2 separate regions of the Homo sapiens genome follow, and region 1 is linked to region 2. The links are contacts of gene promoters, found by promoter capture Hi-C in blood cells and fetal thymus (Javierre and others, 2016). All regions are on one chromosome and are shown on one strand. Each heading gives the region's core, a stretch centred on a gene start or on the middle of the fragment in contact. The rest is flanking DNA. Distances are from core to core; before and after follow the strand shown. Region 1 overlaps FBXL5 (F-box and leucine rich repeat protein 5). Region 2 holds the start of BOD1L1 (biorientation of chromosomes in cell division 1 like 1).

Region 1 (6,277 bases), core at 1,650-4,149, 2.0 Mb before region 2:
TTCACAGAATTGGAAAAAACTACGTTAAAGTTCACATGGAACCGAAAAAGAGCCCGCGTTGCCAAGACAATCCTAAGCCAAAAGAACAAAGCTGGAGGCATCATGCTACCTGACCTCAAACTATACTACAAGGCTACAGTAACCAAAACAGCATGGTACTGGTACCAAAACAGAGATATAGACCAATGGAACAGAACAGAGGCCTCAGAAATGACACCACACATCTACAACCATCTTCTTTCACAAACCTGAGAAAAACAAGAAATAGGGAAAGGATTCCCTATGTAATAAATGGTGCTGGGAAAACTGGCTAGCCATATGTAGATAGCTGAAACTGGATCCCTTCCTTACACCTTATACAAAAATTAATTCAAGATGGATTAAATATTTAAATGTTAGACCTAAAACCATAAAAACCCTAGAAGAAAACCTAGGCAATACCATTCAGGACATAGGCATGGGCAAGGACTTTGTGACTAAAACACCAAAAGCAATGGCAACAAAAGGCAATATTGACAAATGGGATCTAATTAAACTAAAGGCTTCTGCATGGCAAAAGAAACTACCATCAGGGTGAACAGGCAACCTACAGAATGAGAGAAAATTTTTGCCACCTACCCATCTGACAAAGGGCTAATATCCAGAATCTACAAAGAACTTAAACAAATGTACAAGAAAAAAAAACAACCCCATCAAAAACTGGGTGAAGGATATGAACAGACAGTTCTCAAAGGAAGACGTTTATGCAGCCAACAGACACATGAAAAAATGCTCATCATCACTGGTCATCAGAGAAATGCAAATTAAAACCACAATGAGATACCATCTCACACCAGTTAGAATGGCGATCATTAAAAAGTCAGGAAACAACAGATGCTGGAGAGGATGTGGAGAAATAGGAACACTTTTACACTGTTGGTGGGAGTGTAAATTAGTTCAGCCATTGTGGAAGACAGTGTGGCGATTCCTTAAGGATCTAGAACTAGAAATACCATTTGACCCAGCCATCCCATTACTGGGTATATACCCAAAGGATTATAAATTATGCTACTATAAAGACACATGCGCACATACGTTTATTGTGGCACTATTCACAATAGCAAAGACTTGGAACCAACCCAAATGTCCATCAATGATAGACTGGATTAAGAAAATGTGGCACATATACACCATGTAATACTATGCAGCCATAAAAAATGATGAGTTCATGTCCTTTGCAGGGACATGGATGAAGCTGGAAACCATCAGTCTTAGCAAACTGTCACAAGGACAGAAAACCAAATACCGCATGTTCTCACTCATAGTTGGGAATTGAACAAAGAGAACACTTGGACACAGGGTGGGGAACGTCACACACTAGGTCCTGTGGTGGGGGTAGGGGACTGGGGGAGGGATAGCATTAGGAGAAATACCTGATGTAAATGATGAGTTGATGGGTGCAGCAAACCAACATGGCACATATATACCTATGTAACAAACTTGCACGTTGTGCACATGTACCGTAGAACTTAAAAGTATTAAAAAAAAACAGTTGCTTATTGCCTAGGGCTCAGATGTTTTCTCTTTGTAGAGATTTTTATCGTAAATAGCTTAGTTTTTCATAATTGCAGGCAATCTGATATTATTTTGAACCTTTTACTTGTTTATTCATTGAGTAGGTGACTGGTATAGTGGTCCCGCAACTGAACTTGATACTGAACCTGATGATGAATGGGTGAAAAATAGGAAAGATGAAAGTCGTGCTTTTCATGAGTGGGATGAAGATGCTGACATTGATGAATCTGGTAAGCTTGTTTGGAATTAAAATTATTACATAGTGTTTTAATAATTGATAATTAAGTACTTATAATTATTAGGTATTAGATTTATGTATTTTGTGTTTTCTAAAGAAACTGGTGTTTCTAAGCCTACTACTTTTTAAAATTTGAAGGAATAATAATGAAATTTTAAATTAATTGAAGTACTTTAAAGAGTGCATAGGATTATTTCTCGTTTTTATATTAAAATCAAAAATCAGAAAATGGTACCTTTTTTCTTATGAAAATAATGTACGTTTATTATAGTGCTTTGTAGTTTACAATGTGATTTTAGCACCACTTCAAGTGATCAGTTGCACAGCATCTATTGAGTCATCTATGGCTTGAGGGAAATAGGATGAAACTGTTGAGTCGACTTACTCGTTTGTAGATAGTCTTAATACTTGCCTAATAAGGTTATTGTAGAATTAAGAAGTAATATACATAAATATTGTTTGTAAATGGTAAGGGATTACAAAAACTAATGTAGCCATTCATTAAACACTGTGGGAGAGTTCAAGGATGGATAAGACTTCATCGCTACTCCAAACAACTCACAAATGAGAGAGAATTTAGAAAACATAATTTTTAATTTAAAGTATATGATGGAAAAATGCTGTCATACTTGTGCAGAGAGATGCTATTTGGAAGTGTGAGGAGGAAAACAAATTCTGTCTTGGATATTCTAGATAATAATTATTAAAAGATGGTAAAATAGTAAAAAATGAACAGATGAGACATTCTTCTAGTTGGTAAAACTGAAACTATAGGAAATTTTATTTATAAAGTTACTTGCTTAAAGTAATTTGGTCTGGCGAAAGAATTAAATGTGGAAAAAAGACACGTGGAAAGTAACAGTGTAAGTATAAAGATTGTTGTATCAGCAGCTAAAGTAGTTTATTTTTATGAAACGCAGATGTGCCACATTTTGATGTAAAGATTCAAAATGTCCTATATAAGGAAAAGGTCTATTCTAGTTTGATAGATTTGGTGATGTGCTTACCTGTGGCAGGCATTGTTTTAGGTATGAAGGATCTAATGGTGAACAAAATGGAAAAAAGCAAAACAAAACTGGCGCTTGTTGAGCTTAAAATTTAGAGACAGGAGGCAAACAATAAATACAGGTAAAATATATTCCATATTAGATGGTGACAAGTGTTGTAGAGAAAAATAAGACAAGGAAAACATGCCAAGAAGAATTTAAAATTGCAGTTTTAAATTGAGCGATTAGTTAAGGTCCTTTGGGAAATTTGAGTAAAGACCTGAAGGAGATGAGATATTTGCTCAGATGTCAACTTAAGGAAGTCTCAGTTTATTCATTCTAGAAAATTAATTCATAATACCCGTGGTAAGAATGTTGAAGGTTCTCACAAATTCAGTGTATTTGTCTCCATACTTGAAGATAGCCAGAGGAAAGACTCAATTTCCTTCATATTGAAAAGGAAAAGTTAACGCTGTAAAGATTGAGCCTTTTTAGATAATATATCTGTTGATTATTAAAGACTAAACTGTCATTTACTTCAGTGCTTTTTTCGGTTTGGCTGCCTTGTCTTTTTACTTGTCCTAAGAAGTTATTGTTTTTCATAGAATGTTTAACTTTCTTAAAGATTTCACAGTTCCAGTTACCTTGATTTAATCATCACACATTGTATACAGGTTCCATAGTATCACATGTACCCCCAAAATATGCATAATTATTGTATATCAATAAAAAATTAAAAATTTAAAATTTTCACAGTAAATAGTATACATTTAGATAGTGAGGGCCACAGAAACAAAAGAATGGTTTGGGAATAAAATTATAGTAGGGCTCACTAAAGTAATTTTTATCTCCTTATATTTTATCTTCGTGTGTGTGTGTGTGCGTGTGTGTGTGTGTGTCTGTGTCTGGCTAAAGGAGGAATTTAGGATAATATCTAAACAAGGAACCATGAGTAACAAATTCTTTTAGTTGATATCCTTTTGTCTGCTATACTTAGTTTTGTTTTAAATGAGACTTCCTTAACTTATTCTGTTAAATCATTTTATGTTTAAAGACATTCAAATTGGTCTTTAGGTAAGAATAATAACAATAGGATCCTGAGAAAGGTAATACAATACAATTATTCATTCTTTTTAGTGTAGTGTGTTTTTTCCTTTTTTCGAATTGGAGTTTATGGTGTTTTCATGGTGGATGTTACAGTAGTACATTCTGTTGTAAACATCCAAGCTTTACAGAAGTTATTAAGTAAAACCAAAAGCCATGCTCATTTTTAGCTTCTTAGAAATTCTAAAGTACCTTCCTTTGCTTGATTCATTATGATCAGGCTAATTTAGTTGAGTTTCAAATCTTTTCTAGCTTTGTGCCCTTTTTAGTTATGTGGAATCAGTGATAGTACGTTTTACTATGGATCATTTTTCTTTTGATATCATATTTTCTTTTCTCTTGAAAACTTTTGCTGTTCTTTTCAGTTTTCACATTTTTTTCCAAAACCTTTTCATTGCCTAAAAATGGGATGGTTTACATAAGAAAGTATAAGGATAGCACAAAGTATGTCATATTTAACAATTTGGTGAGCGCTTGAGTAGCTTAATTATTATCAGTTTATCAAGTTCTTGGACTTTTGAATTCATTTTACAGAAGAGTCTGCGGAGGAATCAATTGCTATCAGCATTGCACAAATGGAAAAACGTTTACTCCATGGCTTAATTCATAACGTTCTACCATATGTTGGTACTTCTGTAAAAACCTTAGTATTAGCATACAGCTCTGCAGTTTCCAGCAAAATGGTATGTTTAAATTAACACTAGTTTGGGTATTAAGAAAAACAGCATGATAAGAGTTTGGTTTGCTCATTCCTGAGTTTAATTAAGGGGAAACAAACCCAAAAATGATTATTGAGTGCCTTCCTATGGGTAGGCATACACTGCTAGGTTACTTATTATTTCATTGCAGTTCTCACAACAATCTTTGTAGCATAATTATCATTACCTATATGTTACAGATGAGGAAACTGACTAGAAGAGGTTAAACATTTTATTCAGTTTCACAGATGTTAAGTGATAAAGCCCAGTTTTATGTGATTTTTTAAATAATATGTAAGGCATGGTAAGATGGGCAAATGAGATGAAATCACTGTTTTATAAAAGTGGATATTACGACTTCCTACATCAGAATCTTGAGTGTTCCTTAAAAATGTAAAAATCCTGGTTTAGTCTCATAACTGCTAAAACAGATACTTGGGCGGGTGCGGTGGCTCATGCCTGTAATCCCAGCACTTTGGGAGACCGAGGTGGGTGGATCATGAGGTCAGGAGTTCAAGACCAGCCTGGCCAATATGGTGAAACCCCATCTCTACTAAAAATGCAAAAATTAGCCAGATGTAGTGGCGTGTGCCTGTAGTCTCAGCTACTCAGGAGGCTGAGGCAGAAGAATCGCTTGAACCCGGAAGGCGGAGGTTGCAGTGAGCCAAGATACTGCCACTGCCCTCCAGCCTGGGTGACAGAGCGAGACTCTGTCTCAAAAAAAAAAAAAAAAAAAAAGAGATTCTCAGGGATTTGAGCCCAGAATATTTTATTATACTTTTTTCAAGTATTCAAGTGATTTTTTTTTATATTCACAAAAGTTTGTGAACTAGATTATGTTTACTAATAGTCATCTGTTACTTAGCTAACTGAAGTTCTGCAGATCTTTACAGTGACAATTTCTTGCCTTTTAGGTTAGGCAGATTTTAGAGCTTTGTCCTAACCTGGAGCATCTGGATCTTACCCAGACTGACATTTCAGATTCTGCATTTGACAGGTTAGTTATTTTAAACAATTTAAATATAATGAAAAACTATTTTATAAGGTTTCATTTATGTAATTGCAGTTTAATCATACTATTATTTTTTACTATCAAATCTCAGTCATGTCTGAGTATAATTTGATAGCACCCTCCAGTTCTTCACTTCTTACTCATAGGTCCCAGCTGATCCAAAAATCCCATCTGTATTATCTTGCAATCTCTGTAGTCCTATATTTTGTCTAGGCCCTTGAGCCCTGCTGTGCAACCATGTAGATTGGTATTATATGTTTTTAAGAAGTTTTAGTTTTAGTTGGGCTCTAAGTGCCATTTGGCAAAGCTCCCTCTTAGATTCTTCACAGTTACTCTGAAATAGTATAGTGTAACTTTCTTCAAGCCACCTTCTTCCCAGAGTATATCTCCTTGACCACCAATTCTCTGTATTATTGCTCACTCCCTCTTTCCCACCCAACTATTTATATCAGCACCTTTTTTCCTGCTGCAGAGGAAGAGGTATACTCTTCTCGGGCTAAAGCTAATGCTCCATCTTCCTAGAGCTTGTTTCTTATGGATCTTCCTCATTAACCGTCGGTTATTCTCTTTCTTTCATGTGTTTGCAGCCTTACTTCTGCTGACTACTTTTAGGATAATAAACTTAAGTCTTCCAATCCTTACGCCTCTCAAATCCTACCCTTCTGTTAGGTTAGGAATACTTTGA
Region 2 (6,156 bases), core at 1,012-3,511:
GGCTGGAATGAAGTGGCACCACCATAGCTTATTGCAGTCTTAACCTCCTGGGCTCAAGCAATCCTCCCACCTCAGTTTCTCAAGGTCTGCAACATCACACCTGGTTACTTTTTTGTTTTGTTTTGTTACTGGTCTTGAACTTGTGGCTTCAAGCCACCCACCTGCCCCAGCCTCACAAAGCTCTAGGATTACAGGGGTTTGCTGCCACGCCCAGCCTTGACTGCATATAGTAATTAATCTTTTAAGATTCATATCCATGACTTTCTCCTCTCTGCTATCTTCATCAAACTCCTCAAAACACACAGGATACTCTGAATTGAAACAATGAAGTCAAATTGTTTCTGATTTAAAGTAAATCTGATTTGTCTAGTTTGACAATGAAAATGGGCTCTGTTAATTAGGTTATAAGGTAAACATTTAACATTCTTAACAAACCTTTTTTTTTCTTGTTTTTGAGAAGGGTCTCACTCTGTTGCTCAACCTGGAGTGTACTGGCCCCATCATGGCTCACTGCAGACTTGACTTCTTGGGCTCGGGTGATCCTCCCACCTAATCCTCCCAAGTAGGTAGGACTACAGGTGCACGCCACTACACCGCCTAATTTCTTTTATTTTTTTGTAGAGGTGGGGTCTTGCCATGTTGCCCAGGCTGGTCTTGAACTCTGGACTCAACCGATCCTCCCGCCTCAGCCTCCCAAAGTGCTAGGATTACAGGCGTGAGACACTGTGCCCAGTGACAAAGATTTTGAACTTGAATGAGCTAAATCTGCAGTTGCAAATTTTGACAAAAACATAATTTAACCACCTGATAACAAAAATAAATCTTATCCAAAACTATTTATGAAAATGAAAAATGTTTAGATATTCTCCAAACTTTCAGTATATCAGGTGAAAGGTACACCTCATTGAAAAAATCAGGTCTAATTCATAGTCATTTGGTATCTTGGTAAAACCTATCTGGTATATTTCCCAGAATCTGAAAGAGTGAAAAAATAAGGATTAAGTAAACAAATCCTTTGGCAAGCCAGGTGGTTTTCAGCTCTTTGCTTTCCATAAAATAGAAGGAGGGCCTAATTGAAGTCAGCTCATAGATAATCAAATCTAATTTTTTGAGGTCAAGAATTGAATGATATTGCTACAACAAAACTCTTCCATTCCTAGGCACAGTACTTGTTTATATGAACAAGGTTTCTCAGGGCACACAGCTATAAAAATTACAAATAGGAATAGAATTGATGCTCAACCCTTCTTTTCCTACTAATAAGATATATTCAGCCACAGATGTAGGAACTTTAAAAAGCAACAATATGCATTTTTCAATAAAGTTACACACACTATTTAGTAATTATGAAATTTTCTAATATTTATGTTGCTTTGACCACGTACTAATAATAATTTCAAAGATGATGCAGTCCAAAAGCAGGTGATTTGCTAGCTGTGTAATCTTACTCAACATACTTAATTTATCTGAGCCTTGGTTCCCTGATTTGCAAACTGGGGACAGTAATCAGACCTAGCTCTTAGTGTTTGTCCAAAGATTAAATGCGTTAATACATGTAAAAGCACTTAACGCCACGCTTGGTACATAATATGTGCTATAGATGTTTTACCTGCTATAATCATAGTAATCAATAGCAAATCTCCTAAAAATAAAAGCCTGTCGATTTGTCTTCACAGATAGGAAGAACGGGCTGGAGGGATCGGATCTAATCCACAGGCACACTGCCAGAAACAAGGGACCCCCACGGGGAAATGGTATGTGCAGGCAGAAGAGAGACAGAAGGAACTTGGAGCTACCTGCTGGGACAAGAATAGTGCAGGATCACAGGCTAAGAACGAAGAGGGTTGGGCGAAGTTAGAATGAGCAGATCCACGTAGGGTTCGCATTACAAATGTCTATGGATCTCTATGCACTGCTCCGGGAAACTGGAGCAAGAGAGGCAGGCCTAAAATGCCGTCGCGGATGAAGCGGGGCCAGAAACGCACTGCCCCCGCTCAGACCTAGGGCCCCAGGTGTCGCGCGGGTCGAAGCCCTAACCTCCAGGGACTCCAGACCCCTGCCGGTGACCTAAACCCCACAACCCGCGACCAGCACAGTCTTGTCGTCTCCGTCGCCACAGTCGCCGCCACTTCCGGCGCAGCTCGGCCTCGCGAGGGCGCTTGCGCCCGGCGACGGTCGAAACTGGCTCTTCGCGGCCTCCGTCGCCGGACTTTCGTCAATGTTGTCACCGTCTTTTCCTCCTTTCCCCCAGTTCCCTTTCACTTCCGGGGTTGCTCTGGATCCGCTGGTTCCGTAACAACATCCCGTTGGCTTCCCTCAGGCGGCGGGACCAGTGCAGCCGCCGCCTCCCAGGATCGTCCGCCGGTCAGGGCCCTTGCCCTCCCCGGCACAGGCCACCATGGCCACCAACCCACAGCCGCAGCCGCCTCCTCCGGCGCCGCCGCCTCCCCCGCCGCAGCCGCAGCCGCAGCCACCGCCGCCGCCGCCGGGCCCCGGGGCTGGCCCCGGCGCGGGCGGGGCGGGCGGCGCGGGTGCGGGCGCCGGGGACCCGCAGCTCGTGGCCATGATCGTGAACCACCTCAAGAGCCAGGGGCTCTTCGACCAGTTCCGCAGAGACTGCCTGGCCGACGTGGACACCAAGGTTAGGAGCGCGCCGGGTTTGGGGGTCTGCGAGGGAAGGGGAGGACCCAAGGGCGCGCTTCTTTTGCAGTGGCTTCCTCTTGGAGCTGCAGCTGTGTGCCACGGACTGTGCAAAGCACAGAGTGTTCATTCCTTAGCGTGTCCTTTGGTTCGTTTTACCGACTAGTGTTTAAGTACCTACTACGTGCCAGTCATGGTTTCGGCACAGTGATTACCCCGGTCTGATGAGCAAGACTAAGGCATTGTTCTTACAGGAACTGGTTTGGAAACAGTGGCGCTAACAGTAGCCAGTTTTGTATTCATTCTCATATCTGATGATTTTACTTTGTATCGAAGTTATGTTTGCCTTCTTTCTTGAAGGTTTCTGGGCGGTAAGGGCCTTTATCCTTTGGAGAAATGACTAAATGGTAATTGAATCAAGTTATGTGTAATATGCTTTGCTGGACATCGTGGGGGTGGGAGCGCAAAGATAAGGAGGCAAACCTGAGACAGGACTTTAGTATTGTTTCTAGCAGTGATTGCCTGATTTAGGTAACTTAGGCCATGTCACCATTCTAAGGTAAGAAGGGACAGGAAGGTGGGGTAGAGAGAACCGAGTCATTCAGTGGAGAAAAGATGCAGGAGAGGTGACAGCAGATACTGAAGTGGAGAAAGGACAGGAAAGAGAGCAGATTCAGGAGAGTAATGTAGAGAAGGGAAAGGACAGCAACAAGGTTCCCTGTCCAGAAAGAGAGGCTGGAAAGGGGAAGGGATTTTGTACCAAATGTCAGAGTGAAAGGGACATTAGCAGGAACAAGTAAACTTAGCTGGATTGGCAAAGAATTAGCCAAAGACACCAGGAAAGAGCAGTCAGTGAGATGGATGGAAAACCACAGTACAGTCTAGAATTCTGGAAGCAGAAAGCATGTTGGAAAATTAACTGGTTTGTAGGGGTTGTTTTTGTCTGCTTGTTAAATCTGGTTGGGTCCATTGGATTGGAGTTTTGATGAAATGAGGGTTTCCTTTTTTTTTTTTTTTTTTTTTTTTGAGACAGAGTCTCGCCCTGTCGCCAGGCTGGAATGCAATGGCGTGATCTCGGCTCACTGCAACCTCCGCCTCCCGGGTTCAAGCGACTCTCCTGTCTCAGCCTCCCAAGTAGCTGGGATTACAAGCGCGTGCCACCACGCCCTGCTAATTTTTGTATTTTTAGTAGACACAAGGTTTCACCGTGTTGGCCAGGATGGTCTCGATCTCCTGACCTCGTGATTCGCCCAGTAGGCATGAGCCACCGCGCCCGGTCGAGGGTTTTCTCATAGTATGTTTAGTTGTTCTGAGGAGCTTTGTATCTTTGAGAAATGCATGTTTACAACATCCACAGTTTCTTCTAAAGCTTTCAGGTGAACTGCACACAGTTCCACTATGTCTTCTGGGGAAACTCTTGAATATCCTGGTACATCTTCCTTTATAAGGACTCATACTGGGCCCACTATGTAAAACGTGGTTTTTCGGGATATTGGAGGTTTTGCACCACAGAGAATTCAATTCACTTGGGAGTGTTCATCTATTTAGGAAGTATAGTTTTTTTTACTTTTGTCTTCAGGAATATGCACTGCTACCTTTTAGAAATAATTTCTATTGCCTTTATTATTTTTGTTGTTATTTAATGGGAAAAGGTTAGACATGGCCAGGTAAATGTTATCAAATAAAGTTAGTTATTCGTATTCAACAAGTGGAATTTTTACTTTGCTGTTCTCAGAAACCCATGAATCTGTGTGTTCTCAGAAACCCATGAATCATTATGTATACAAATTAAAAATTGTAATGTACTGCTGCAATGTCTGAGGCTCAACTTTTTTATTATCCTATTCCCACAAAATGTTATTGGTATGTGTCTATAATATCCCTGCCAGACCCTTCAAAGTAAAGGATTAAAACCTTTTTTGGAGGGAAGGAGGGAAGCACAGTATCTCTGATCATCTAATGAAAGTTAGGACCTTCTCTCAAGAAAAATGCGCAAGTAACACATTAAAACGCTGTTTTTCTACTTCAGAATGGTCAACTATAGGCAATTTCATGAGAATCAATCTAATAACATATACAGTTTCAGTGAGTTCAGGAACCATGGAATAAGAACCTATTTTAATGTTCTTAGCCTCTTTTTTGAGGTCAAGAATTGAATGATATTGTTACAACAAAACTCTTCCATTCCGAGGCACAGTACTTGTTTATATGAACAAGGTTTCTCAGGGCGCATGACTATAAAAATTAGAAATAGGAATAGAATTGATGATCAACCCTTCTTCTAGTAATAAGACATATTCAGCCACAGATGCAGGAACTTTAAAAAGCAACAGTATGGCCAGGCCCGGTGGCTCATGCCTGGCCACCGTGGGCCAAAGTAGAAGATTCCCTGTTCATGCAAAGAACCATCACTTTAATGGAATCCTTGAGTTTCATCTGCCACTTGAACCTCAAAGACTGACCTGCTTTCTGTCAAAAAGTCTTAACTTGTAGCATATAGAGTTATAGTGGATTATGTCTGTCACGTGCATATTTAAGAATGAAGACATTTGATACCTGCCAGGTGCTAAGAGCAAAACTGTCATCCAGTTTAGTGTGTTTAAACCAGGATGAGAAGTACCAAAGTCTGCTGCTACACCAGAAGACCACAGAACCCTGGTCTTCTGGGAGGCCGAGGTGGGTGGATCATTAGAGGTCAGGAGTTCGAGGCCAACCTGACCAAAATGGTGAAACCCCATCTCTAGTAAAAATACAAAAAAAGTAGCCATGTATGGTGGCACATGCCTGTAGTCCCAGCTACTCGGGAGGCTGAGGCAGGAGAATTGCTTGAAGCCAGGAGACAGAGGTTGCAGTTAGCCGAGATTGTGCCAGTGCACTCCAGCCTGGGAGACAGAACAAGACTTGGTCTAAAAAACAAAAATTTTTAAAAAGCAACAATACACATTTTTCAATACAGTTGCATATACTATTTAATAATTATGAAAATTTCTAATATTTCTGTTGCTTTGAGAAATTAGAACTGAAATGACACCCTCCCAGACAAAAAAGAACACTCAGCTATGGTTGAAGTTCTGGTGCTCAGACGCTAGCTTAAACTCTCCCACAAAATCTCTCTCTCTCTCCCCCTCCCTGCCACTAACCTCTGTACCTGCTCCTGGTTATGTTACAGGTTATGTTCTGGTACTTCCTTTACCCCATGACTCTCTCCTTCTCTTCTACTCCCTTAGTTAGCAATTAGGTAGATTTTAATTTGATTTAAAAGATTTGTTCTCATTGAATACCATTTTATACTTCATTTTCTTATTTGAAAAAAAAAAAAATATATTCCCCCCTGCTTCCCAAAAAGCCAAAGTTTTCTTCATCAGAACATAACATTCATATCAATATGATGAGTGGGCCAAAGTAGAAGATTCCCTGTTCATGCAAAGAACCATCACTTTAATGGAATCCTTGAGTTTCATCTGCCACTTGAACCTCAAAGACTGACCTGCTTTCTGTCAAAAAGTCTTAACTTGT

The links. Contacts are between HindIII fragments. The CHiCAGO score rates a contact against its expected background, and 5 or more counts as called.
Region 1: a fragment that was not itself captured here is called in contact with the fragment with the promoter of BOD1L1 in region 2 in 5 of 17 cell types (non-activated CD4 T cells, naive CD8 T cells, total CD4 T cells and 2 more); the score reaches 8.0 in non-activated CD4 T cells.

Annotation. Positions count from the first base shown.
Region 1 is chr4:15,626,173-15,632,449 of GRCh38, reverse strand. It overlaps FBXL5 (F-box and leucine rich repeat protein 5), which reads left to right. Exons shown (of 11, transcript NM_012161.4): 6 at 1,659-1,784; 7 at 4,417-4,565; 8 at 5,495-5,577. Among named protein-coding and RNA genes, the nearest start is that of FBXL5, 26 kb to the left of the region's middle. The HindIII fragment of the contact is 2,216 bases long and covers 1,792-4,007 here.
Region 2 is chr4:13,623,830-13,629,985 of GRCh38, reverse strand. BOD1L1 (biorientation of chromosomes in cell division 1 like 1) reads left to right here and starts at 2,261. Exons shown (of 26, transcript NM_148894.3): 1 at 2,261-2,641. The coding sequence starts at 2,399. It overlaps MIR5091 (microRNA 5091), which reads right to left and starts at 2,121; the gene lies at 2,029-2,121. RefSeq lists enhancers at 1,371-2,101, 2,105-2,264, 2,102-2,832 and a silencer at 2,405-2,604. The HindIII fragment of the contact is 7,220 bases long and covers 1-4,011 here.